2 separate regions of the Homo sapiens genome follow, and region 2 is linked to region 1. The links are contacts of gene promoters, found by promoter capture Hi-C in human tissues and cell types (Jung and others, 2019). All regions are on one chromosome and are shown on one strand. Each heading gives the region's core, a stretch centred on a gene start or on the middle of the fragment in contact. The rest is flanking DNA. Distances are from core to core; before and after follow the strand shown. Region 1 holds the start of PLIN5 (perilipin 5). Region 2 overlaps KDM4B (lysine demethylase 4B).

What was found. The method cuts DNA at HindIII sites, captures the fragments that hold promoters and counts their contacts. A contact is called where the count stands out against the background at its distance.
Region 2: a fragment that was not itself captured here is called in contact with the fragment with the promoter of PLIN5 in region 1 in 3 of the 25 tissues and cell types used here (dorsolateral prefrontal cortex, lymphoblastoid cells and spleen).

What each region holds. Positions count from the first base shown.
Region 1 is chr19:4,533,974-4,538,042 of GRCh38, reverse strand. It overlaps PLIN5 (perilipin 5), which reads left to right and starts at 2,819. Exons shown (of 8, transcript NM_001013706.3): 1 at 2,819-2,878; 2 at 3,948-4,028. The coding sequence starts at 3,969. LRG1 (leucine rich alpha-2-glycoprotein 1) reads left to right here. Exons shown (of 2, transcript NM_052972.3): 2 at 1-1,641. The coding sequence ends at 103. RefSeq lists an enhancer at 3,113-3,668. The HindIII fragment of the contact is 58,476 bases long and covers 1-4,069 here.
Region 2 is chr19:4,988,127-4,991,997 of GRCh38, reverse strand. All of the region lies in intron 1 of KDM4B (lysine demethylase 4B), which reads right to left. Among named protein-coding and RNA genes, the nearest start is that of KDM4B, 21 kb to the right of the region's middle. RefSeq lists enhancers at 1,229-1,728, 1,729-2,230, 2,447-2,951, 2,952-3,457. The HindIII fragment of the contact is 6,577 bases long and covers 1-3,871 here.

The sequences.
Region 1 (4,069 bases), core at 1,570-4,069:
TCAGGCCCAAAAAGACAAGATGTTTTCCCAGAATGACACGCGCTGTGCTGGGCCTGAAGCCGTGAAGGGCCAGACGCTCCTGGCAGTGGCCAAGTCCCAGTGAGACCAGGGGCTTGGGTTGAGGGTGGGGGGTCTGGTAGAACACTGCAACCCGCTTAACAAATAATCCTGCCTTTGGCCGGGTGCGGGGGCTCACGCCTGTAATCCCAGCACTTTGGGAGGCCCAGGTGGGCGGATCACGAGGTCAGGAGATCGAGACCATCTTGGCTAACATGGTGAAACCCTGTCTCTACTAAAAATATAAAAAATTAGCCAGGCGTGGTGGTGGGCACCTGTAGTCCCAGCAACTCGGGAGGCTGAGGCAGGAGAATGGCGTGAACTTGGGAGGCGGAGCTTGCGGTGAGCCAAGATCGTGCCACTGCACTCTAGCCTGGGCGACAGAGCAAGACTGTCTCAAAAAAATTAAAATTAAAATTAAAAACAAATAATCCTGCCTTTTACAGGTGAAACTCGGGGCTGTCCATAGCGGCTGGGACCCCGTTTCATCCATCCATGCTTCCTAGAACACACGATGGGCTTTCCTTACCCATGCCCAAGGTGTGCCCTCCGTCTGGAATGCCGTTCCCTGTTTCCCAGATCTCTTGAACTCTGGGTTCTCCCAGCCCCTTGTCCTTCCTTCCAGCTGAGCCCTGGCCACACTGGGGCTGCCTTTCTCTGACTCTGTCTTCCCCAAGTCAGGGGGCTCTCTGAGTGCAGGGTCTGATGCTGAGTCCCACTTAGCTTGGGGTCAGAACCAAGGGGTTTAATAAATAACCCTTGAAAACTGGATCGGATGAATTGGCTTTCATTGTGTTCCTAGCATCTTCTCAAATCAACTTCCCAGGACTCCAGGGTGAAGGAGGAAAAGAGGCATGGCCCAGGCCCTGGGGTGTGGGATATGGTCTCCCTAGGGGATGACAGTTGGGATCAATGGCCTGTGACTTCTCCTCTCCCTTCCCCCATCCTGGGACCTAACTGGAAATAAAACCTTGACTGTTGCCCGGGTGTCATTTTACCAGTGGATTTCTGCCAGGGCTTGTGTCCTAGGAGAAGGTTTAAGTTAAACCAGATTGCCCAGGTCTCCAAACGATTTGTCATGCTGACCTGAGATCATCGAAGGGGGCACCTGCCCCCGGGCAAGGTTGCAGGGGCAGGATGGGGCTGAAGGGATGAGCAGGGTCCCGGGCCCACCTGCTGATACAGCATTGGCCATGTGGGGGCTGCAATCGGATTTGGAAGACCCTGGGGCTTGGGGGCATGTCCAGTTTTCCCAGCTCCCTAAAAAATGACCATGCAGCCTGGCGCCGTGGCTCATGCCTGTAATCCAAACACTTTGGGAGGCTGAGGCAGGCAGATCACCGGAGGTCAGGAGTTCGAGACCAGACTGGCCAACATGGCAAAACCCTGTCTCTACTAAAAATACAAAAATTAGCCAGGCACAGTGGCACGTGCCTGTAATACCAGCTACTTGGGAGGGTCAGGCAGGAGAATCACTTGAACCTGGGAGGCGGAGGTTGCAGTGAGCCAAGATCACGCCACTGCACTCCAGGCTGGGCGACAGAGTGAAACTGTGTCTCAAAAATAAAAATAAAAATAAAAAGACCATGCCTACATCTGTGGTCATTCCAGGCAAGGCAATGAAAAGGCAGGGTTCTGAGGTCCAGCAGGGCTGGGTTTGAATAGGATCCCTGGCCGGGCACGGTGGCTCATGCCTGTAATCCTAGTACTTTGGGAGGCCAAGGCAGGCAAATCACGAGGTCAGGAGTCCAAGACCAGCCTGACGAATATGGTGACACCCCGTCTCTACTAAAAATACAAAAATTAGCTAGGTGTGGTGGCAGGCGCCTGTAATCCCAGCTACTCCGGAGGCCGAGGCAGGAGAATCACTTGAACCCAGGGGGCGGAGGTTGCAGTGTGTCAAGATCGCGCCACTGCACTCCAGCCTGGGCGACAGAGTCAGACTCTGTCTCAAAAAAAAAAAAAGAAAAAAAAGGAATAGGATCCCTCACTTGCTGTGGTATGCGGGGCAAGTGTTTTATGATCTCTGAGCCTCAGCTTGCTCATCTGTGAAATGGGGATCCTAGGGAAAGGGAAGGCCTGGCTTCTGGCTTAGTTAAGGGGCAGATTAAGAAATAAAAAGAGGCTGGGTGCAATGGCTCACACCTGTAATCCCAGCAATTTGGAAGGCTGAGGTGGAAGGATCACTTGGGGCTCAGGGGTTGAAGACAAGCCTGGTCAACACAGGGACATCTCGTCTCTACAAAAAGTTTAAAAAGTTAGCTGGGGGTGGTGGTGTGTGCCTGTGGTCCCAGCTACTTAGGAGACTGAGGCGGGAGGATCACCTCAGCCTGGGAGGGCAAGGCTGCAGTGAGCTATGATCACACCACTGCACTCTAGCCCTGGGCAACCGAGCAAGACCCAGTCTCAAAAATCGATAAATAATAATAATTAATAAGAAAAGTCATCAGCGAGTTGGCCAAGGTCACTCAGCAGGGCTATGGGGGCTGTGATCGCATGGACTGTCTCTATGGCAACAGCAGTGAGGATGACAGGTGGCCAAACTTGGTCCGGGAACGTATAATAGCTCAATCTTTTGAATCTAGCGCTCCCGAATTACTATGGCAACCGTAGGGCACTGGGCCAGCTCAAGGAGAGGGCGAGGGAAGCCTGGAGCCACGCCCCCTGGGCACGCCCCCGCACGGCCTCTCCCCATTGGTCAGTTCCGGAGGCCCCCACTGCGCGAGCAGCTATAAGAAGGGCGGGCGGGACCGGCGGGGGTGTGGAGACTCGAGCCTGGGGTCGGCGGAGACAGCTGGTGTCTGAAGCCGCTCGCGCCCAGGTGAGTGCCCTGAGGGCGGCGTCCGGGAGCGCCCCCCCGGGCTTAGGAGAGGAGCTCCAGATAGGGTGGTTGGGCGAAGGTCCGGCGGCGTGGGACGGGTATGACCGGCCAGAGCAGGTGGCTGGGACCCTTGGCCCGGTTGGCCCCAGCTCAGGACCCAGTTGGGCGAGGACCAGGCCTCAGAGGACGCGGGGTGGCAACCGGAGGGATCGCAGGCGGCAGGTCTGAGGCCCGAGGTCGAGCTCCCCCCCTGTAACTCTAGCTGGCTGCGTGACCTTGGGACCAGCATGGACCTGCTGCGTACCTCAGTTGCCCTGTCTGTCAAATGAGCTGTGAGTGGACTGGGACCCAGCAGCTACCACCTCCAGCCGTCTAGGGTGCTTGGGCAGTTCTGGGCCCAGGCAGGGGCCGCAGGGGTAGCAGGGACCTCCCACATCTTACAAAACAGGAAGCAGCCCAGAGAGGTGAAGGTGCTTGCCAAAAATCACACAGCTGGCCAGGTGCAGTGTCTCATGCCTGTAATCCCAGCACTTTGGGAGGCCGAGGTGGGCAGATCACTTGAGCCCAGGAGTTTGAGACCAGCCTGGGCAACATGGCGAAACCCGGTTTCTACTAAAAATACAAAAATTAGCCGAGCATGGTGGCACGTGGGTAATCCCAGCTAACTGGGAGGCTGAAGCAGGAGAATCACTTGAACCTGGGAGGCGGAAATTGCAGTGAGCTGGGATGGCGCCACTGCTCTCCAGCCTGGGCGAGAGAGATTCTGTCTTTAAAAAAATAATAAAAATAACACCGCAATTAATGGTAGCATTTGAACCCAGGTCTTTCTCACCTCAGAGACCATGCTTCGAGTCACTCCGGCAACCCTACCTTGCCAGAGGCTCATTATTGGACACCCTCTGTGTACAGAGCTCTGGACATGCATTGTCTGAGCTCCACAGAATGCCCCATTATGCAGATGAAGAAACTGAGGCCCCAAGAGGTTTGAGAGTTGCTCAAGTCACAGAGCCCAATTTGACAGGATCTGATGCCTGGGCAGGTGCTCCCCTTACTCAATCCTGCCCCGCAGGGTGACCCTGTTTGCAGCACGATGTCTGAAGAAGAGGCGGCTCAGATCCCCAGATCCAGTGTGTGGGAGCAGGACCAGCAGGTGAGGGCTGCCCCTCCCATGGAGCAGGGACAGAAGGTATT
Region 2 (3,871 bases), core at 555-3,054, 450 kb before region 1:
GCCACCCGTCTCACAGAAATAAGCAGAATGAGAAAACAACACCCGTATGGAGAACTACTGAGTAATAAAAGAAAGTAACTACTGATACACACAACAACTTCGACAGATTGCAAGCGAAAAAACCCAATCCCAAGAGGTTAAATACGCTGTGATTCCATCTACATAACATTCTCAAAAGGGCAAGGTTACAGAGATGCAGAGATCCTCAGCCGTCGCCAGGGCCTGGGGGTGACAGAAGGGAGAAGCAGAGCGTTCCTTTGTGTTGACAGAACAGTTCTGTATCTTGATTGCAATGGTGGTTCCTGGAATCTGTGCAGGTAACAGAATGTCGCAAAGACTCTACCAAAAGAATGAGCCAGTGCTAACACTGAGGACGCCTGAGGAAGGTCTGAAGCCACAGTGTCCTGTGTCAATTTCCTAGTTTTAACGGGACACTAAAGTTATGTAAAATGTTACCACTGGAGACAGCAGGGTGAAGCCTAGGGAAATCTCTTTATTATTTTTGCAACACCTTGGCAGTCTATAATTCATTCTTATTTTTGCTTTTGTAGCGACAGGGTCTCACTGTGTTGCCCAGGCTGGTCTCGAACTACTGGACTCAAGTGATCCTCCCACCTCTGCCTCCCAAAGTGCCTGGATGACAGGTGTGAGCCACCACACCCAGCCTCTGTAATTCTTTAAAAATTAAAAGTTAACAAAAATAATATGAGGGCTATTTCACCACAGATGGGGGTAGGGCAGGGGGGGTTGCCATGGGTTGATGGTTTTGGGGCTGGGTGAGGGGCCTGGGGGGCTCGTTATTCCATGTTGTCTACCTTTCTGTGTAGTCAAATTCTCCATAACAGTGTTTTTATTTTTATTTTTTGCTTTACTATTTTTTGAGACCGAGTCTCACTCTGTCGCCCAGGCAGGAGTGCAGCGGCACAATCTCAGCTCACTGCATCCTCCGCCTCCTGGGTTCAAGCAATTCTCCTGTCCCCTCCCTAGTAGCTGGGACTACAGGCGCCCGCCATCACGCCCAGCTAATTTTTGTATTTTTAGTAAAGACGAGGTTTCACCATATTGGTCAGGCTGGTCTCGAACTCCTGATCTCAGGTGGTCCGCCCACCTCAGACTCCCAAAGTGCTGGGATTATAGGCGTGAGCCATCATACCCGGCCCATAATAAAGTTTTTTAAAAAAAATAATAAAGGGAACCAACACAAGAATAGCACTAAGAAGGGCCTTATCCATCCGGGTTTATAAATATCCTTCAAAATGCACAGTGTTAGAATTACGGGCCATCTCATCGAATATTCTCCCCAAAACAAAGGCCGGAGAGGCGACCAGAACTAGTTCAGTGTTTGTACAACACAGATCTAAAAGAGACACTGGATTACCCCCAGGCCAACTTCCATAATGACAGTATTAAAACACGGCATGTGAGCTTTGCCCAATACTCATGACCTCTAGATGAGCTCTCCACGGCCCCAGGATCCCAGGCACAGCCCTCCCATCTCCTCGCCACGCTGCCTTCAGACTCAGGTAACAGATGCATCCTGCCAGAGGCCACCTGCCCCAGGCCCTCATTCCAGTACAGAAACCTGCACTGCTAAGTCAGGGCATGTCTGCCTCGGGCTCCACACAAGTGTCTCCCTTTCTAAGTCCCTGTTTTTGGGTGGAAGTGAACTGCTCTAACACCAAGGTTCTGACCCTCTTTTTGTGGGGCGGGGACAGGGTCTCACTCTTTTGCCCAGGCTGGAGCACACTGGTGCAATCGTGGCTCACTGCAGCCTCAACCTCCTGGGTTCAAGCGATCCTTCTGCCTCAGCCTCCCAAGTAGCTGGGATTACAGGTGCCACCTCCATGCTCAGCTAAGCTTTTAATTTTTTTGTAGAGACTGGGTCTCATTATGTTGCCCAGCCTGGTCTTGAACTCCTGGCCTCAAGTGATCCTCCCACCTCAGCCCCCCAAAGCGCTTGGATGACAGGCATAAGCCACCCACTGCACCTGGCCCAAACTGTTTCTAAAGGAAATTAACAAGGGATGACATGAAAAGGAAGACTGAGTCAGACACCGTGGCTCACGCCTATAATCCCAGCACTCGGAGAGGCCGAGGCGAGTGGATCACCTGAAGTCAGGAGTTCAAGACCAGCCTGGTGAACAAGGTGAAACCCTATCTCTACTAAAAATGCAAAAATTAGCCGGGCACAGTGGCGCATGCCTGTAATCACAGCTACTTAGGAGGCTGAGGCAGGAGAATCGCTTGAACCCAGAAGGCAGAGGTTGCAGTGAGCCAAAATCGTGCCCTTGCACTCCAGCCTGGACAACAAAGTGAAACTCCATCTCACAAAAAAAAAAGAAGAAGAAGAAGAAGAAGACTGGGCATGGTGGCTCATGCCTGTAATCCGAGCACTTTGGGAGGCTGAGGCAGGCGGATCACCTGAGGTCAGGAGTTCAAGACTAGCCTGGCCAACATGGTAAAACCCTGTCTCTACTAATAATACAAAAAAATTAGCTGGGCGTGGTGGTGCATGCCTGTAATCCCAGCTACTGGGGGAGGCTGAGGCAGGAGAATCGCTTGAACCTGGGAGACGGAGGTTACAGTGAGCCAAGATCGTGCCACTGCACTCCAGCCTGGGCGACAGAGCAAGACTCTGTCTCAAAACAAACAAACAAACAAAAAAAAACAAAGAAAAAGAAACAGAAACAGAAAAAAGAAAGGAAGACTGGCAGACACAGCCAACAGCACGTGTGAACACGGCCCCCCTGCCCCACCATCCTTAGGCAAAGAACCAGCACTCTGCAAGCGGCTTCCACCCCAGGCCACAGGGCCCTTCACAGAGCACCCTGCCAAGCCCTCCACGGCAGCGACTCACCTCTACCACTTCAGCACTGTCCAGACAGCCACCCTCCCGTCCTCTCATCACAGACAAGGAAGCGGAGGCAAGGGACCGGCCCAGTGAGACTGTGAAATACATTTTGTCCTGTTTCCTGGCCTACGACTCCCCCAGATCCTCGGAATTCTCCAGTGTGCTAATGAGGTGACTAAGGGCTTGGCAGCCCCTCGGGAGCTGAGGGAATAGGGCTGCTCACTGAAAAGACCCAGGCTGGACGGGAGGGGAGGGGCATGTGGCTGAAGGCTGACTTGATCACCCAGGCCAATGCAGTGAGGTCACCCAAGCCTCTGCGAGGAAGCTGAGGTAAAACCCGGAGGACTGGGATGGAAGCTTCCCCACAGATGAATGCGTGGAGGTTCCTGGAGACGTCACAGCCCGGGGAGAGCACGGAACCCTCTGTGCCCCTTCCCACATCCCTCACCCTACACATGTCTTCATCTGCCTCCTTTGTAAAATCCTTTCTAATAAGCTGGTAAACGTAAGTAACAGCTCCCCTGAGTTTTGAGAGGTGCATTAGCAAATTAAGCTCAAAGAAGGGTTCATGAGGCCGGGCACGGTGGCTCATGCCTGTAATCCCAGCACTTTGGGAAGCCGAGGCGGGTGGATCACGAGGTCAGGAGATTGAGACCATCCTGGCTAACATGGTGAAACCCCGTCTCTACTAAAAATACAAAAAATTAGCCGGGCGTGGTGGCGGGCACCTGTAGTCCCAGCTACTCCGGAGGCTGAGGCAGGAGAATGGCGTGAACCCAGGAGGCGGAGCTTGCAGTGAGCCTAGATCGCACCACTGCACTCCAGCCTGGGAAACACAACAAGACTCCGTCTCAAAAAAGAAAAAAAAAGAAGGGTTCATGAGAAGGCTGGTTTCCAGCGCGTCCAGCAGAAGCTCAGGACACAGCCTGGGGCTTGTGACTGGCATGGGCCGTGGGGTTAGGTACGTGGGGAGGAGCCCGCAGCCTGTCCTGCCCGATGCAGCCCCCAGGTAGGAGTGAA